Regions from separate parts of the Homo sapiens genome. Here regions 1, 2 and 4 are each linked to region 3. The links are contacts of gene promoters, found by promoter capture Hi-C in blood cells and fetal thymus (Javierre and others, 2016). All regions are on one chromosome and are shown on one strand. Each heading gives the region's core, a stretch centred on a gene start or on the middle of the fragment in contact. The rest is flanking DNA. Distances are from core to core; before and after follow the strand shown. Region 1 has its middle 5.3 kb from the start of LIMD1. Region 2 overlaps LIMD1 (LIM domain containing 1). Region 3 holds the start of LARS2-AS1 (LARS2 antisense RNA 1). Region 4 overlaps LIMD1 (LIM domain containing 1).

Evidence for each region. Contacts are between HindIII fragments. The CHiCAGO score rates a contact against its expected background, and 5 or more counts as called.
Region 1: a fragment that was not itself captured here is called in contact with the fragment with the promoter of LARS2-AS1 in region 3 in 2 of 17 cell types (monocytes and megakaryocytes); the score reaches 5.4 in monocytes.
Region 2: a fragment that was not itself captured here is called in contact with the fragment with the promoter of LARS2-AS1 in region 3 in 1 of 17 cell types (monocytes); the score reaches 5.2 in monocytes.
Region 4: a contact is called between a fragment that was not itself captured here and the fragment with the promoter of LARS2-AS1 in region 3, in 1 of 17 cell types (monocytes). The highest score is 6.1, in monocytes.

The regions. Positions count from the first base shown.
Region 1 is chr3:45,587,235-45,591,745 of GRCh38, forward strand. No RefSeq gene overlaps it. Among named protein-coding and RNA genes, the nearest start is that of LIMD1, 5.3 kb to the right of the region's middle. The HindIII fragment of the contact is 2,487 bases long and covers 359-2,845 here.
Region 2 is chr3:45,608,817-45,613,674 of GRCh38, forward strand. All of the region lies in intron 1 of LIMD1 (LIM domain containing 1), which reads left to right. Among named protein-coding and RNA genes, the nearest start is that of LIMD1, 16 kb to the left of the region's middle. RefSeq lists enhancers at 2,906-2,975, 4,033-4,082. The HindIII fragment of the contact is 4,747 bases long and covers 1-4,349 here.
Region 3 is chr3:45,506,762-45,511,740 of GRCh38, forward strand. It overlaps LARS2-AS1 (LARS2 antisense RNA 1), which reads right to left and starts at 2,784. Exons shown (of 4, transcript NR_048543.1): 1 at 2,596-2,784; 2 at 151-221. The region is part of intron 15 of LARS2 (leucyl-tRNA synthetase 2, mitochondrial); the gene reads left to right. RefSeq lists an enhancer at 1,163-2,029 and a silencer at 2,856-3,150. The HindIII fragment of the contact is 1,698 bases long and covers 1,589-3,286 here.
Region 4 is chr3:45,628,743-45,633,769 of GRCh38, forward strand. The region is part of intron 1 of LIMD1 (LIM domain containing 1); the gene reads left to right. Among named protein-coding and RNA genes, the nearest start is that of LIMD1, 37 kb to the left of the region's middle. RefSeq lists an enhancer at 1,225-1,726. The HindIII fragment of the contact is 9,554 bases long and covers 1-5,027 here.

The sequences.
Region 1 (4,511 bases), core at 352-2,851, 79 kb after region 3:
AAGGGCCCGGGGCATTACAGGTGCTCAGTACCATTTGTTCTGTGAGTGAATGCATGATAAGGGCAAGGGCAAGGAACAGCAAAGAAGTCCATGTGTCTGAATGGAGCAAGAGGAAAGGATAGTGGAAAATTTGGAGGCAGAGGAGGCAAGGCACCAGATCACATAGAGCCAAGGAAAGGATCTAAGTGTGGTTCAGGATGCCATTGGAGGGTTTGCACTAGGGAAAGCCATGATCTGACTGATGTTACTGAGATTCTGGGCAGGTCAAGTAAAAAAAATTCACATTCCATGAGTGTGTCCCTGTGGCAGGCAGTTTTTGTATCTGTGTATCATGAACAATTGTCCTGCCTCAGCCTAAAGCTTTCCTAAAGGAAAGCTGGGTGTCGAAAATGGTACCTGTTGCACAGGCAGGGCCATGGGAAGGAATGATCACTGCTTTGCAGGGGCTCCATGCTTTACAGCTTGCTATGGACTGAATGTTTATGCCCACTGCCCCAACATTCATATGTTAAAATCCTACCGCCCAAAGTAATGGTATTAGAAGGTGGGACTTTGGGGCCGGGCACGGTGGCTCACACCTGTAATCCCAGCACTTTGGGAGGTTGAGGCAGGCAGATCATGAGGTCAGGAGATCGAGACCATCCTGGCCAACATGGTGAAACCCTGTCTCTACTAAAATACAAAAAAATTAGCCGGGTGTGGTGGTGTGCGCCTATAGTCCCAGCTACTCGGGAGGCCGAGGCAGGGGAACTGCTTGAACCCGGGAGGTGGAGGTTGCAGTGAGCCAAGATCACGCCACTGCACTCCAGCCTGGCGACAGAGCGAGACTGTATCTCAAGAAAAAAAAAAAAAAAAAAAGAAGGTCATGAGGGTAGAGCCCTTATGAATGGAATTAGTGCCATTAAAAAAGAGGCCTGAGGGAGCTTGGTCACCCTTCTACCATGTGAGGACACAGGCAGAAGGTACCATCTATGAACCAGAGAGCAGGTCCTCACCAAACACCCATTGACAAAAGGAGTCAAACTCTGTAAAATATTTGAAGAGATTTATTCTGAGCCAAATATGAGCAACCATGGCCTGTGACACAGCCCTCAGGAGATCCTGAGAATATGTGCCCAAGGTGGTTGGGGCGCAGCTTGGTTTTGTACATTTTAGGGAGATGTGAGACATCAATCAAATACATTTAAGATATATATTGGTTGCATCCAGAGAGGTGGGACAACTCAAAGAGGGGGGTGGTGGGGGTGAGGGCTTCCAGGTTATAGGTAGATTAAAAATTTTTCTAACCAACAATTAGTTGAAATAGTTATCAATATAAAAAAAGTCTAGGTTGTGATAAGAGACTGTGGAGACCAAAGTTTCATCATGCAGATGAAGCCTCCAGGTAGCAGGCTTCAGAGAGAATAGATTGTTGGGCTGGGTGCAGTGGCTTATGCCTGTAATCCCAGTACTTTGGGAGGCTGAGGTGGGTGGATCACCTGAGGTCAGGAGTTTGAGACCAGCCTAGCCAACATGGAGAATCCCTAGCTCTACTAAAAATACAAAAAGTTAGCTGGGCGTGGTGGCGTGTGCCCGTAATCCCGGCTACTCGGGAGACTGAGGCAGGAGAATAACTTGAACCCAGGAGGCGGAGGTTGCAGTGAGCTGAGACCATGCCATTGTACTCCAGCCTGAGCAACAAGAGCAAAACTCCATCTCAAAACAAAACAAAACAACAACAACAAAACCAGAGAGAATAGATTGTAAATATTTCTCATCAGACTTAAGGTCTGTGTTGATGTTAATGCCAGAGAGGTGTAATGAGGCATGTCTGACCCCCACTTTCAGGTTAAATTTTAGAGTGCCCTGGCTGAGGAGGAAGTCCATTTAGATGGTTGGGGGGCCTTAGGATTTTATTTTTGGTTAACACCCTGAATTTGCTGTTGCCTTGATCTTGGACTTCCCAGCCTCTCAAACCATGAGAAATACATTTCTGTTGTTTATAAGTCACCTAGTCTGTGGTATTCTGTTATAACAGCCCAAATGGACCAAGACTAGTCAACTAGAATATTGAACATGTTTTCATTCAAGAAAACAAAATAAAACATTACTGGTAAACACTTAAACAAAACCATTTACACTCTGCCTACCTACTGATAAAATTTTTTAACTTTTCAGTATTTTGCTTCTTAAACAACTGTTATGCAAATATAAACACCTTTTTTTGAGATATTAAAGTTGTTTCCAAGCACATGAAACAGACAAAAACAGCCTGTATTAAATAACCACAGCTGGGATTCTAAATGCTATGCAGAGAATTTGAAAGACCTCTGCCTCTTATGTATTAAACAGCAGCAGTAAAACATCAGTAGTCTCCTGGCCATTTCTAAGTACCCTTTCACAGTGGTATATTATTCAGTTTGATGCCCATGGGATACCATCTTTATTTTTTTTTTTAATTTTTTTTTTGAGACAGGGTCTTGTTCTTTCACCCAGGCTGGAGAACAGTGGTGCGATACTACAGTCATGTGCTACCATACCTGGCCAATTTTTTAAAAATTATTTTTTGGTAGAGATGGGATCTCACTATGCTTGTTGCCCAGGCTGGTCGCAAACTCCTGGCCTCAAGCATTCCTCCCTCCTTGGCCTCACAAAGTGCTGGGATTACAAGAGGGAGCCACTGTGCTCGGCTGGGATGCCATCTTTATAATCTATTTTGTAACGGTGTAAGGTGATCCATTGACTAAGAGAGGACAACCCAGTTGGGGCAGGAAATACATGGATTGTGGATTCAGGTTTGTGTTTAGTTGATGGAGATGGTGCAACTGTTCTAGAATGGCAGTGGGGGTGGAGAGTAATGCCTACAAGCTTCTGGAATGCTGAGCACTTCAGCTAAGCCAAGATACGGGGAGGCAGGAGGGCATCAAGGATTGTGGGCTCACATAGGTGCCAATGTCACAGGATACTTGGGGTGTTGCTTTTCCAGACAGAAACCTCTGTGGCTAGTGGTGCCTTTGCCCAAGTTTTGCTCAGGCCTGCTGGTTTTGTTTCGCCCACTTAGCCTGACAGGCTGTGCTCAGCTCGTGCTACTGGTGTGGATCCCATGCTTGCCAAGGGCAAGCCAGCCATGGAGCAGCGAGAGCTGTGTGAGCAAGCAAGCATGGGGTCTGGCCACTGCACACAGCCAGGCATGCCAGCTGTGGCAGTGCAGGCAGCTCCAGGTGCCAGCACGGGCACAGCTGTGGCTGGACCAGGCGTACCACAGGCAACTTCCACCGCTGGCACTGGGGAATGCGGTGGCACCTGGAAGCTTGGAGACACCAGGAACCGCAGAGCCCCAAAGAGGGTATCATAACCCTGGATTGGGGTGCTCCTAGGTCTGGGCTCCCCAAAGGGCTGCAGCTTTTCTCTCCTTCTCTCTTTTCTCCTTCTCTCTTCTCTCCTTCTCGTTGCCCACAACGTGGCAAGCAAGGGGTGTGTTTCAGTCCTGTTTGTGTTACAGATCTTTTAGTGCCACCATTTGCCCAGTGGGTCCCAAGTTCTTGTCCTGTGTCCACAAAGAATGAAGTATGCAGACAACTGGAGGGTGAGCAAGGCAGAAAGGAGCCTCACTGAGTGGCAGAACTGTTCTCAGTGGGTATCTCCTTTCCTCAGGCAGGTTGTCCCGATGAGTGTCCAGCTCTCAGTGGAGAAGAGACCCACAGTGGGTAGCTGCCTTCCACAGGCAGGTTGCCCCGATGTCTCTGCAGCCTTCAGCAGAGAGACCCAGAGTGGGTAGCTCCTATCTGCAGGCAGGTCATCCCATTGTCTGCCTGAGTCTGGCTGAGTCTGGTTTTTTTTATGGACTTCAGAAGGGAGGAAGTGTGTGCTGATTGGTCCACCGGCAGCCATAGGCAGGCCCAGGAAAAGCACCATAAATTCTCACTCCAGTCTGCAGGACTGATAGCTCAGCCCCTAGGTTTCAGGCTGTCCCTGTCTTGAAGGGGGCTTCACTGGGGACCCATCCCATTTCACCCAGGAGCCTGATTGCCCCCTGCTGCCATCAACCTGCTGGCCATGGCACCCATGGCACCCAGGCTGTTCATGCTGAGGGGTGCCTGCAGGTACATGCCGAACTGCCCTCAGCCTCACCCTGGCCTCCCTCCCATGCTCATCGGCACCCAAAGTCTGGAGGGGGCCGAGGCGGCAGGGGACTGGTGTGTCAGTGCTGCCCTGAGTGCGTGCACCCCCAGCTGGGTCGTGACAGTATCTGGGCTCAGCTTCAACTTTGCTCCAAAATCAGAATGGGCACCAGGAGAGGCCAGGCAACAGGAGCAGGCACTTCTGAGCCTGTGGGAGTAGGGGGGCTTTCTAGGTCCCCGGGAGCACAGGGATGCCCAGGTCTGCAGCCACAGCTGGGTGGATGCAGCTGTGCCTGGGAAGGCAGGGCTCCCGCCCCACCAACTCAGAAGGGAGTGGGGCTCCTGCCTGTTCCTAGCTCCTACCAGCTCTATGGAGCATGCAGTCACGGCCTCACCTCGCCATTGCAGCTA
Region 2 (4,858 bases), core at 726-3,225, 100 kb after region 3:
GCAACAGAGCGAGACTCGGTATCAAAAAAAAAAAAAAAAAAAGAAGGAGAATGAAGAAATAAAACCAAACACTGAATTAGTGATAAGGTTCAAAATAGAAACCGAAAGACCTGGTCTGTAGAAGTTACTCATGAGATATTTGTTGAATGAATGAATCATGGTATGTATTTATAATATTACCCAATCAGAATAAAAAAGGGAAATATTTTGGTGACAGTGCTACTGTTTGCTCAGCAGTAGTGGCTAAGAAACAGTGGATGCTACATAGGTATTTTCTCCATAACTTGTGCCTGGTAGTAGCTGTGCCAATTTTCACCAGACCTTGATTACCTGTTAGAGTTTTGAAGGGAGAGCTTATCTGGTGAGGACTTGGGTGACGTTGCTTGTGGGAGGAGGGCCAAGCACGGAATGGAAGTTGAATGTTAGAAGTGCTAGACCTCCAGATTCAGTAAACTTGGAGAATCCCTGTCCCTTGTGGTAAACTTGAGACTTGACTACATTTTGCGGTTAAGGGAATTTCAGTCGGTCAGCATATAACCTGGGGGAGCTTCATGATGTTCTCTTCTTTTTTCTTTTTAATTCATAGGTGTGATCATAGTACACTACAGCCTCAAGCTCTTGGGCTCAAGCAGTCCTCTTGCCTCAGCCTCCCAGGTAGCTGGGATACAGGCATGTGCCACCGCGCCTGGCTCTGAATGGTTCCTTGGTTTCCTTGGTGGGTGGAGCTCCAGATTCCTGAAGCTGGAGTTGTGGGCATGAACCCCAAGTGGGTCACTGGCTTTCCTGCGGGGTTCCACAGCCCTCACTTACCCCTGCCCCAGACCTATCTTTGCATTACCACATCCAGAAAAAGTAGTTCCAAGCCAGGATAACTCATTCATTCAGCAGCTATTATTGAGTACCTACTATGTGCAAGAGACTGAATTAGGACTACTAGGGCTTCCTTTTGTCACAAACAGGTATTGCTTAGTTCCTCCTGCTGTATCTGAGCTCCTTGGTAGTGGGGTTTTTGTCTGTTTTGTTCACTGTTGTATCCCCAGGGCCCAAGGCACTGCCTGGCACACAGCAGGTACCCAGTGGAAACTTACTGAATGAGGCTGGGTGCGGTGGCCCATGCCTGTAATCCCAGCACTTTGGGAGGCCGAGGTGGGCAGATCACAAGGTCAGGAGATCGAGACCAGCCTGACCAACATGGTGAAACCCCATCTCTACTAAAACTACAAAAATTAGCTAGGCATGATGGCGCGCGCCTGTAATCCCAGCTACTCGGGAGGCTGAGGCAGAAGAATCACTTGAACCCGGGAGGCGAGTGAGCCGAGATTGTGCCACTGCATTCCAGCCTGGGCAACAGAGCAAGGCTCTGTCTCAAGAAAAAAAAGACTTCTCGAATGAATATGTGTACACTCTGGCCAGATGTGGGGAGCAGATACTCCCTGACTTCCTCCTGAGTGTCAGTGCCTTTAGCTGGGACACACATTCTGGCATCAATCCATACCCTACACTGACGTGGTAGGGAGGCAGGGGCACTGGGCTGCTGTCCACATCCCTCACCCTGACCAGAGTTACTCAGATGAGCGCTCTCATGTGGGTAGGAGATGCCTTTGGTAGCTGAGGACTAGAGGGGCCAGAAAGGGTTGGGATACATGCTTTATCTGGATAGAAACTTATAGAGTTCCAGGGACTAGCTCACCAAAGGCCTGCGCAGGTTTGGCAGGGAGCAGGGAGACATGCTGGCAGGCATGCATGGTGGCTTTGATTTGAGGAGCTGTTGGTGGGAATGAAAAGCCTAATAAGCACGTGGGCTTTGGATCTGCCACCCCCCAGCTCTGCCAACAGCTGTGAGACCTTGGGCGGGTTGTTCAGCAGCCCTGTACCTCAGTTTCCCCATCAGTAAAATGTGCATATGGTTGTGAGGACTGAATTAGCTAGTATCTGATCTAAGTTGTCCAGTACGGGAGACTGGCCACGTGCAACTGTGAAGTACTTCAAAAGGTGGCTTTTCTGAACTGAGATGTGCTTTTGAAGCACATCTGGATTTTGAAGACTTGGTATGGAGAAAAGAGTGGCTTATTAATATTTTTCATATTGATTCTATGTTGAAATGAGACTTTTGGATATATTGGCCTAAGTAAAACATTAAAATTAGTTTCACCTATTTTTACTTCCTAAGTATGGATACTTGAAAATGTAAAATCGCACGTGGCTTGCATATTTTTCTGCTGGGCAGGGCTGTGCCTTACAAAGCACTTAGAACAGGCTGTAACACATGGTCGTTTGCTGTATACATTCTCTTGCTTTGTCATTTTCTCAAAAGCATGGAAGCGTCTTTACCTTGTCCCATCTGAAAGCCAAGCCCAATCGATTTGTTCAGAACCACAAATGCTTAAACAAAAAGATCATCATTTGTTCAAGGGAGGCTGATTTCATGATTGCCAACCACCAAGTGAGCCCACTGAGGCCAAATGCCTGATGCAAGGGATGGCAGGCTGCTCCCACGCAGCCTTAGAACGAATCCGTTCCCACTTGAAGCAGGGGGGCTCTGGGGTCCGAAGCTGCTGTGTGCACAGGGCTTGATGGAGCAGGTGGTCATTGCAGCTGAGCCAACTTTCCAGCGCCTTAAAAAATACACTCAGTTTAGCAAGTACAGGCAGAAAGCCCAAAGAGATGGCCCATCCCCTTGAGGGAGGTAGAGAAGTGAACGATGGTGTTTCCTGTCCCAAGAGGTGGGAGGAAGGCTGTTTGGGATTTGGCTCATCAGGGGCCACAGGCTACTGGGATGCCTATGTCCTATCCCTCTGTGTAGGCTATGGAGCCCTTTCCTGGGTATGGGCCTCCCAATAAGCCTGTGGCCAATGCAGGGGCAGGCTGGGAGGTGGCTTTCCAGGCAGCTTGCAAAGGCCTGTTTGTCTGAGGCTTGTCCTGACATCACTGAGGCTTTGCTTGCAGGTGGCAGGGACTTACACAGAGGCTCTTTGTTGGCCAGCCACAGAGGTCAGTTAGAAGCCATGAATGGACTGGAGCTGGCAGCCCCTCCTCTACCCATAGCACACAGCTGCCACCTCTCTGGGTTGCCCATGCCTGACGGTGGGTGTGTGAGGTGTGGGGAGAGGCATCTCTGCCCAAATTTGTAGCCAGAGAGCAGAGGAAGTGAAGTTGGTGGGAGGCGGTGAGGAAGGCAGGGAGAAAGAAAGGAGGTGGTGTTGAGGAAGCTAGCATGGCTTCTGCCCAGCTCTGTCATGGTTTGCAGGTGCGCGCTCTCTCTCTCTCTCTCTCTCTCTCTCTCTTTAAAGACAAATTCTCACTCTGTACCCAGGTTAGAGTTCAGTGGCACCATCTTAGCTCACTGTAGCCTTGGCTTCCTGGGCTCAAGCAATCCTCCCATCCCAGCCCCCCGAATAACTGGAAACACAGGTATGCACAACCATGCCTGGCTAATTTGTTAATTTTTGTAGAGGCAGGGTCTCGCTGTCTTGCCCAGGCTGGTCTTGAACTCCTGGGCTCAAGTGATCCTCCCACCTCGGCCTCCCAAAGTGCTAGGATAACAGGTGTGAGCCACTGTGCCAGGCCTTTTGCAGGCTATTTGATGTCTGCATTGGATACTTGGGGTCAGGCTCAATGCCTGGAAGTCATTTAGTGTCATTCTGCTGTGCTCTATTACTTTAAGCATTCACAAGCCTTTCCACACTCTCACTTCTTGATAGGAGGAGTGTCTAGGAATTGTTTTCAAAATGCTGTATTTGCATACAGAGAAATGTGTAGTTCAGTGAGTTTTGACAGATGCATGCACCTGTGTGACCCACATTCCTATCAAGATATAGAATAGTTCCATCCCCAGAAAGTTCCCTCATGCTTCTTTCCAGTTAGTGCTCACCTCCAGGCAACTACAATTCTGATTTTTTAAAATCATTTATTAGTTTTGCCCATTCTAAGATGTAATATAAATGGATTCATATAGTATTTATATACAGTTGATCTTCATTATCCACAGATTCTGTATTTGTGAATCAGCTTACTTGCTAAAATTTATTTGTAACCCCAAAATTAATACTCACAGTTCTTTTGTGATCATTCACAGATATAACAGAGTGCTGAAAAGTTTGAGTCCCCTGACGCCTATCTTCCCAGCTGAAGTCGAACAAGGCAACGCTCCGCCTTCTTGTTTCAGGTCATGCAGTAAACAGGTGTCCTTTTCATGGTCTATTTAGTGCCATGGTTTTTGCATTTTTGTGGTTTTTGTTGATGATTTTGCTGTTTCAAATGGCCCCCAGGCACAGTGCTGGAGTGCTTTCTAGTGTTCCTAAGAGCAAGAGGGCTGTGATGTGCTTTACAACGAGAATATGTATGAGAGAAGCTTTCTTCAGGCACGAGCTACAGGGCTGTTGGCTGAGGGTTCGATGTTAATGAATCAACAATATATACTAAGGAAGGTGTCTCTAAATAGAAGCACACATAAAACAAGGTCATATATTCATCAGTTGATGAAAGTGTTGTGGTCAGAAGTTTTCAGAAACCTAACCCTGTATTTCTGCCAGAAGCAGTGGTTCAGTATTGACTGATTCAGTATTCTTGCCAAATAATGAGAATCAACTATAGTACTCCTTTGTCCAGCTTATTTCACTCAGATAATATCTGTGAAATTCAGCTATGCTGTTGCATTATCAACTGGGCTTTTTGCATTATCAATTGTGCTTTTGTTTTACTGCTGAGTAATATTACATTGTATGGATACACCACAAGATTTGTTTTTCCATTTCCCTGTTGAGGTTTTTTTTTTTTTTTCATTTTTGGCTATTATGAATAAGTCTGTTAGGATTGTTTTTGTGTAAGACTTTGGGTTTTTTTTTTGTTTGTTTTTTTC
Region 3 (4,979 bases), core at 1,534-4,033:
CTCTTTTCACTCTGATTCTAATTTCTTCAAATACAGACAGCAAAGGTTTATGTATATCTAATCATCTTTCCTGTTTTGTAAGAGTTGTGGACATTTTTTTTCATCACCTGCACAGTTAGGCTTGCAGTTTGTACTTTAAGGTCTCCTTACCTTACGTAAGAGGCTGGCCTCCAAGTTAAGTGTGCCACCACACAGGACAGCAGGTGCCTTAGTTGTGTGATCTGAAATACCAAGTTAATGATTAACCGGGAATTAATGTAAGCAGGAAACCCACAAAAGAAGATATCCAAATGATTAATAAACATTTTATCACACTATAAAATAATAAACATCTTACACTGTAAAATGTTTCCGTCCCAGCACGATGGCTCACACCTGTAATCCCAACACTTTGGGATTGCAAGACAGGAAGATCATTTGAGTGCAGGGGTTCGAGACCAGCCTGGGCAACACAGCAAGACCCCATTTCTATGATTTTAAAAAAAAAAATTTCCCTCACTGGCAAATATAAATTATTCAGCAGTGAGATGCCATCTTCCATGTAGTAAGGAAGCTAGCATAAGAGCAGCTCTCATATATTGCAGGAAGTAGCTTGGAACAATCTTTCTGAAAAGCAGTTTGGCAATACATAGTGAGAGCCTTAAAACTATTCATTTTTGGGTGCACTAATTGCACTGCTAAAAATCTATCCTAAGGAAATAATCAGAAATGCAAACTTATGCACCAAGATGTTCATGTAAGTGTTATTTCAAGTAGCTAAAAATTTGGATACAATCTAAATGCCCCAAAATGCTGAGACAGGGTAAATAAAGTATAATCCATCTACGTGGAGCACACTTATACAACACTTTCAATTAAATTACAAAGAATGTTTAATAACATGGAGAAATTCATCTGAAGTAATGAGAAATAGAAAAAGCAAGATACAGCTTGGTTATCTTTGTCTTTATATATACAAGCACATATATACACATACTCAAAGCAAGAGAAAAGACTTGAAAAACTCATGCCAACATGTTAACACTAGCTATCTCTGGGTGGTGAGCCCAATATACTTCTGATTTTTTCCAGATTTTTTACAATGATTGTGTAACTTTATCATTTACAGTATGGTATATATTCCAAAGAAGGAAAATATGCTGAGCCTCCTGCTGTGGTTGTGGGTGTGGGGTAGGATCAGCTTTCAGCTTCCCTCCTTCCGGTGGTTAGCACCAGGTTGAAAGAGAGGGGGCACATTAGAGCGTGGGAACATGTCATGGCCCATCTTCACTGAATGAGATCAGGAAGCCTTTTCTCTCCCTTTGTGGGAGACCGCTGTAAACATGGAATCTTGTCACTTTTTGTTGTAGCTCTGTAATGCAACTTAGACACTAAATTCCCCAAACTGAATTTCTCCCTTCAGTTTGGAATCAACAGAAAGTGGTGGCTGTCAGAAGCAAGCAGCTGCTCAGGGAGCTCCCATGAGAAGGGCAGGCCGCCTGCTGACCGTGGAGAGCACAGCAAGCCCCTATCCACAGAGCTTTCTTCTCTGTTACTCTGATCATGCCAGAAACGGGGCTACTGGGAAAAGGAACAGGAAGGGAAGAGAAGCTTTACTTGGGTCCTGCTGTATTAGTAAACCCTCCTTCTGCGCCACTAACTGGCTGCTAGGAAATGGGAATGGTGATATTTCAAGAATGAGCCATGGCTAATACTTAGAAACTAGGCTAATTATGTGACATGATGGCCCTGGGCACAGAACAAGGAAGAAGAGGAAGGTAAACTTAGTCTGATTTAATGAAAAGTCCAATTTGGAGACCATTTTCAGAGATCTATGGCCTTCAAAGATCTGCAGCCTGGCAGGCCACTCTCGCACCAGGTCAGGGGAGTGGGCAGCAGGCTCTCTGGGGCTTCATGAATAGGTAAATGTCATCTGCAGCAAGAAGGTGGGGCTCTGATACATCCTGATATTCTTTGCTCATACTGTAATTAGCACATTCCTTGTATATAGTGATTTTTTTAAGAGCACTTAACATGGCCAATCAATCAATGTTCTGAATTTCCTTGTTTATCCTAATAATTAGCAACTCCCTTCCTTCCCTCCCTTCCTCCCTCTCCTCCCTCCCTACCTTTCCTCCCCTCTTTCCCTGCCTCCCTCCCTTCCTTCTTTCCTTCTTCCAAGTGGGACAAATGTGGCCTTCAATGCCCAGCAGCTATCAGTTGTTGCAATTTCTGAGTTAGTGCAGTCTAAACTAATGAAGAAATTGTGAAGATCTCCCCCCAGTTTTCATCACTGTGCTTACATATAGCTGTGCTTCAGTGCAAGCAAGCATGATCTACCTCCAGGGATGTACCGAAGGAGTAGGAAGAAAGCTGACTCAGAAATCCAGGGCCTTCTTCAAGGCAGAGGCCCTGCCTAATACTCCCGCGTTTGATGGTCCCTGAGTCAGAACGGTTTGTTAGTGGTTTAGAGTTGCAGATTTTCCACTCACTTATAAAGGCCCCTGCTGTGCACAGTCACTATGATGAATGAATAACTCAGTTGCATACGCAAGTCTGTTCCCAAGTACCATCTGTTGAGTGAATGAATGAGTGAACAAAAGGGAAACACATTACCCCAATTGTGAATCTGAATAATGAACTTGGCAATGTGATGTGATCTCTGCTCCAGCAGGCCTGGGTTCCAAGTCCAGCAGGGCCCTTGATGTCCTTTGTCCTTCATTCCTGTGCACCTTGCGCCTCCAAATCACATTTGGTACGTCTTTCTTGTAGTGCTGATGGTTATTTATGAGCATGTCCTGGGCTGCCTGTTCTTATTGTAAGCTCTCCAATTAATTGCCTAGTGCTGTGTACCCAATTATCATGTAAATACATGTTGAATGAATAAACAAGTGTGACTCATTCAGAGCTAAACTACGCATGAGAGTAGACATGGCCAGCTTCAGCCAAGAGTGAAAACCAGATTCCCAACTCCCTATAGCCCATTCCCTGGCTCCCTGGAAAAGTGGAGGGAAAACACTTGGGAATGAGCAGGATTCTAGGAGCTGGGAAGCGCCCCTTTCCCCACTGGGAAATTCCATGTGAGCACTCATCGGGGCATTCCCCTGCTCTCATTCTCTTGCTTCAGCTGCTTGGGATCTTTCAATGCACCCCTCCCTGCAAAAAGATGGTGGCACTAGCTGGAAAGTATAGCATCCAGTGCCCCACTTCACTCATTTCTTTCTTCCCTCCTCTCTTGCCTCCACTTTGTCCTACTCACATTATCCCCCACCCCTGCTGCTGGTAGGTTTATTCATCCACTGAAACAAGCTTGATTGAGTTCAAGGCAATTAACATTACTGAGCATCTGTTAGGAACTGGAGACTGAGAGTGGCCTTTAAGGATTTTCAAGGCCAGGAGCAGTGGCTCATGCCTGTAATCCCAGCATTTTGGGAGGCCGAGGCAGGAGGATTGCTTGAGCTCAGGAGTTCAAGACCAGCCTGGGCAACATAGTGAGACTTCATCTCTACCAAAAATACAAAAAATTAGCTGGGTGTGGTAGTGCGCGCCTGTGGTCCCAGCTGCTTGCAGGGGTAAGGTGGGAATATCACTTGAGCCCAGGAGACTGAGGCTGCAGTGAGCTGTGATTGTGCCACTGCACCCCAGCCTGGGTGACAGAACAAGACCCTGTCTCAAAAAAAAATCATCCTCCTACTCCTCACAGGAGAAAGACAGGCAAGCAGCTTACCTAAATACACAATAAAATGTAATAGCTGCTAGATACAATTACAGGCACTACACAGGATGCATCAGGAAGGAAAAAACAACTAATTCTAATTCTGACCAGGAGATACCTTCTCAGTGGAGATGGCATTTGAGTTGAGCCAGGAAGGAGGACTAGAGTTTTGATAACAGTTTGGGAAATGGCGTGAGTAAAGACGTGGAAGCACATGCAGGCAACATTTGAAAGAGCAGAGGGAGTGGCAGGGGACAGGGAGAAGTCCTGGATGGCTATGCGGAGGAATTTGGACTTGATTGGGAGGAGGAGCTCTTCAAATATGACTGCACTCTTTCTTTTCCTCCCTCACAGCTCTGAGAGTTGTCAGGCATTGGTTTGGTTCAGTGATCGTAAACAGGCTGGCTCCCCAAGGGCAGAGATTGCTTTGCCCAACATTATATCCCCAGTGCCTAGCTCAGTGCCAGGCACATAGCAAGCACTCAAGAAATACCAAAGAAATAAGTGATACATTTCACATAATAACTCTGTGCTTTCTGATTATATGGTACGAAGAAGAATTCAGAGACTCGTTCTGAGCACCAGGAGTGCTGCTGTCGATGAATGGTGTCTGGGTGGTTGTAGGCAAGGGCACTGGGGATAGTTGGCTAGGTTTTGCCATCCCTGCTCTAGATGATCCATCTGAGATGGCCCCTGCTGCACTGCAACCCTCAGAGAAGACAGTCCAGAAGAGCTTCAACTGTCAAGTTTCATTGTTGGAAGCTTTCAGACATTAGGATATATTCATGTAACTAGCAGGTCTTGGTGTGGGTGCACTGCTGAGGACCTGCCTGCCAGTTCTGGGGAAAGCCTCCCATGTGGACATCCCCTGAGAGCTCTCACTAAGAAATGGCTACAAGCGGGTTAGAAACAGGCAGATGAAATAATAGTGTTAGCAGTCAGGCTATAGGGGCCCATAGTGAGGAGACAGTGCCTAGAAGCGGATGGAAGGTTGATTTCACGTTCTGCTAATTGGGCTGAATGCCAGTTACACAAGTGTGTTTTATATTGTGAAGATTCATCATTATACCGCTAGGACTTACACTTTTCAATATGTGTGCTATACCTCAACAGTTTACCTTAAAAAAAAAAAAGTTATAAAAGACGAGGCAAAAGTTGCAGCCTTAGGCTGAACAGCTGGGGTTAGTCAGTTTTTCGCAGGTTGCAATTCTGTCCGTTCTCGGAAGGTGGCAGTGTTGTGCCACTTGATAAAATACAAGACCTAAGAATAGGATTCCTTGGATTC
Region 4 (5,027 bases), core at 1,089-3,588, 120 kb after region 3:
CAAACTGGAAACAACTTATGTGCATCAACAAGCAAATGGATAAACAAACTAATACATTCATATGGTGGAATACCACATGGCAGTAAAGAGGAATGAGCTCCTGCTGCATGTAACAGCATGCGTGAATCTCAATTTATATTGAGTGAAAGAAACCAGATAAAGTACATAAACCAGATAAAGTACATACTCCAGATTCCATTTATATAAACTAGAAAAGACAAGCTAATCTGTGATGACAGAAAGCAGATCAGTGGTTGCCTGGGGAGAGGAAGAGGAAGCGGGGAGGGATTGCAAAAGGCATGAGGACATGGGGAATCTCTGGGGCAGTGGATTTGATCATTGTCTTGATTGTGGTGATTTCACAGGTGTATAGAAATGTCACAACACGGGGCTGGGCACGGTGGTTCACGCCTGTATTCCCAGCACTTTGGGAGGCCGAGGCGGGCAGATCATGAGGTCAGGAGTTCAAGACCAGCCTGACCAACATGGTGAAACTCTTGTCTCTACTAAAAATACAAAAATTAGCCAGGCCTGGTGGCACGTGCCTGTAATCCCAGCTACTCAGGAGACTGAGGCAGGAGAATCGCTTGAACCCAGGAGGCAGAGGTTGTAGTGAGCTGAGATCACGCCACTGCACTCCAGCCTGGGTGACAAAGAAGACTCTTGTCTCAAAAAAAAAAAAAAAAAAGAAAAGAAAAGAAATGTCACAACATACTGATACAGAAGCAGGGAAGAGAAGTGCTGGGTAGAGGAGGGCATGGTCCCTGGCTAGGGCTCTATACCAGGGACCTAGGTGAGGACAGGCACTTCTGCCTTTGCACCCAAATATTGCATTTTCCAAAACCACCCCAGCCTGCCTTGCTCCCATCCTGGGCCTATAAAAACCTGAGACCCTAGCAAGGCAGAGACAGAAGCTGCTGGACGGCGAGAGGAACACATCAGCGGAAGAAGATACAAGCAGCTGGATGGCGAGAGGATGCCAGGAGCACACCGACAGACGCCACCACACTGGCAGGCCATCAGCCGGCAGAACGAGGCAGAGTTTGGCTGGGGCAGTCGGAGGAGAGCCTGTATGCTCCCCTAGAGGTTTGAGCAGGGGGGCACTGAAGAAGCGAGCCACACTCCCATTGCACACCCTGTGAGAGGGACAAGGGAACTTTTCCCATCATAATACCAAATTGCACTCTTTAAATAGGTACAGCTTATTATATGCTACTTATATCTCATTAAAGCTGTTTTATAAGAAGATTGCTTGGGCTACAATTTGGAGAATGGGCTAAAGGGGCAGTAAGTCTAATTGCAGAGGAAAAATGCCCATCCCTTCCTCTCTTCTCCTAAAAGTGTATCCCTTATTCCTCTCACTTCCCTTCTGGTTTTTGAGCTTGGTTGTTACAGTAACATGTGATGATATTTTTTCTTTCCTCTGTTGGGCATTTCTTTAAAATCCTGTGGCATGGGGGGCCCTGGCAAAGCCAAGGGAGGCTAAGAGCCTACTCTTTTTCTTCTTGTTGAGCCTGAGCCTCTCCTCAGCCCAGACCACTTAGTGAATGTACAGGTGAGATTGGGCAGCTCACCACCAGTGGTGGCAGGGTCTGGTTTCTACAAGGGCATGGCCACAGTGCAGTCACCCTGCTCCCTATCCCATAGCCAGCGTCTGGAGAGGGGCTGGCTCCAAATGAGTGAGAGGGAAGTGTTTGTGGGGGGAACGATTGGTTTCCTGAAGGGCAATCAGAAGGCACGCACCTGCAGGGCCCCTCACAGAAGGGCAGGAGGAGCTGCGGGTTGCCCCCCAGGGAGAGGCCTTGTGATTGAGGTCCCAGTCAGAAAGATGGTCGTGTGTGCAAGGGACAAGGTAGAATGGGAGGTGGGCCAGGGTGGGTAGTAGGAGACTGGGGGCAGGGCTGGTCTGGGGTCTGAATCCCTGATGAGGTGATATGTTATGGGGTGAGGAAGGAGCTCCCCTCATGATGGGGGGGGTTGGGGGGCATGTGTGGCAGGAATAGCCACAGCTGCCAACCAGATAGTCATAATGAGACCTTTGAGTTGGAACTGGGGCTCAGATTCCCTCTTTCAAACCTACCCACTGTGCAGACTTCAGTAAGTGACAGGACCTTTCTGGAACTTGGGTTTTAGACAGGAGATGGCAGCAGCTCCTTCACTGGTTGAAATCCCCAAGTCTGGCTAGGTGCGGTGGCTCACGCCTGTAATCCCAGCACTTTGGGAGGCCGAGGCGGGCGGATCACCTGAGGTCAGGAGTTCCAGACCAGCCTGGCCAGCATGGAGAAACCCCGTCTCTACTAAAAATATAAAAATTAGTCAGGCATGGTGGTGCACAACTGTAATCCCAGCTACTCGGGAGGCTGAGGCAGGAGAATAGCTTGAAACCAGGAGGCAGAGGTTACAGGTAGCCGAGATCGCATGCTGCACTCCAGCCTGGATGACAGAGTGAGACTCTGTCTCAAATAATAATAATAATAATAAAAATCCAAAGAAAAAAATATCTGTGAGTCCATACTGATATACTGCACTCCAGCCTGGCGACAGAGTGAGACTCTCTCAAAAAAAAAACAAAGAAAGAAATCTCCAAGTCCAGGGTCTGGCCCATAGTAGACACATGATTTCCTAGAATGTGAAATGCAGTTTTTTTCCCTACCTTTTCTGTGTAGGAAGTACTTTTAGATCCATTTAGCCACAAGGATGAAATCTTTTCCTACCTACTTGGCTTCTTATGGGGTCTTCCTCACTCTGTGACCCATGGTTTCAAACACAGGTGGCTTCCTTGTTTTGTATCTGTGCTAGGTGGTCACTGGTCACGGTGGAGAGAAAGGATGTCAGCAGCCCGAAGGACTCAGCTGCAGGAACAGAAAGTGAGGGACAGCTGAAGGCAGAGGGTCACAGCCCTCAGAGAGAGGAAGCCAGAAGAGAGTGTAGCTGAGCAGGGTGTGGAGAGAGGGGAGGAAGCCCTGCCGTTGAGAGATAAAGTGGCAGGAAGTCCAGTGGGGCACTGGCTGTTGTCAGAGCATCCACGTGAAGACGCTGGCCACCCTGCCAGCATCTTATGAACAGGGGTAGGAGAGGGTGCTGGATTTCATTCCCCAAACCCAAATAAGATGCATTTGCTTCTGCCGTCTGGGCCAGCAGCATTGCACTGACACGTGCAATTCATTTCACCTTTCCTTTTTGGTGAGCTGTCTTGCAGGACGGTCCTCTTCATGTGCTCATGCTGTGGGTGGTGGAAAGGGTGGGCATGCCATGCTAAGCTGCTGAGTCCCTGTGCCCCTCTGCTGTTTGTAGCCAGCATTTTACAGGAGGTTAAACAAAGAGGCCACAGCATTTGGGAGTGGTTTTACACCACGTTTGTGAGCAGAATTATATTCACAAATGCACTGCTTTAACATTACATGTAGCCTGCTTCGAGTGTGCTTAGTTGATGCCTGACAAACTAGCTTTTGTTGCTCATTGTAAAGGCTTAGAGTCAGGTCCACCAGGGGACTTACGATGGGTAATCTGGAAGTGGACTTCGGCATTACCAAACAATAACCTAACTCATATCTTGACATTTTGCCATGGCCTGATATTTGGCATTTTTCGGAAAGATTTCTCCCCCATTGTCACATTTGAATTATGTCATCGCCAGTTCCCAATAGATGTCCATAGAACCCATTTCTCTGTGTTTAGGTCTGCTGAGGGGATACTAAGTGCACTCTGTCTGTGGCTGGGGGTGTTCAGAGATGAATAAGACCCTGGGCCTTGGAATGAAGTGCTTGTGGGGGAACAGACATGTGTGCCCAAGATACAAGGAAGCAGGTGCCAGGTAAGGAAGAAAGAGGAAAGGACTGTGCAGGGAACTATGTGGAATGTGATTCAACTCACACTTGTTTCCTTGAGCACTTGCGGAGGCCACAGTTAAGACATGGCCCTTATTCTGAAGGCACTTGCAATTCACTAGGAGAGGCAAATGCCCAGGTAACTAGCAACTCACCACAGCATGGTAGGTGCTGTGCCCAGTGGCAGATGCACCACCACCATCACTTCCACATTTGCCCCGTCCCAAATACTAGAGGCCCCACTTGGCTCGGCCTGGTCCAGTGGTCACTGTGCATGGGCCCCTAGCAGCAGCCGCGACACCACTGCTTTCCAGGGTGACGAGACCGCTTAAAGGAGCCTTAAAGATGAGTGGTGATGCCTCAACCCTGTTGGGTTTATGCTTTGCTGCTAGGTGGGCCCCACAGCTCCATGTGTGCCAGCAAAAGAAATGCAGTTTGCCCGGAACTGTATTTTCTACCTTGAGAGCATAAGGTACCTAAGTTGTATATAAAAATCATTAGACAGAAAGAAATGCTGATGCCTCTGAATTACTTGATGCTTTCAGTTTCATACTGGTGGGGGCTCCCTGTTGACTTTGCTGCTTGCAAGGAACAGAAATGCCAGCTGTCCAGTAATCTCATCCGCCCGCCACCCTCCCCTCCACAGGCACATATACATGCACACACATGCATTTCATGGCCATTAAAGAGAAGATGGAAGGGAGAAGGCAGGCAGGAACTTTTTGGGGGTGTTGGAAATATTCTATATCTTGATTTGGGTTTGCTTTACATAGATCATTTGTCAAAACTCATTGAATGGTAGACTTACACTTTTTGTGTCTGTTTGTGAATTTTACCCGGAAAAAAATAAGCCTAAGCAAATAAATGATGAACTCTAGTTAATGATGGGGAGGCTGAAGTGTTTGGGGTGAAGTTGCTGCCTGCAACTTTGAAATGCATCAAGAATGGGATGGATTGTTGGATTGATTGAGGAATGGTTAGCAAAACATCAATTATAGAATTGGGATGGTGAGTATGTGGGTACCCTCTGTATAATTCCTTCAACTTTTCTGCGTGTTTGAAAATGTTGAAACAGAAGAAGAACTGCAGATAACCAATACTTGTGCCCTCTTGAGCTTTCTATAAATGAATTTCTCCAATGGTCAATGTCTTGTCTGTTTCCTACAGACTGCTTCACCCTGCTTCCTGGTGTTGGCAGAG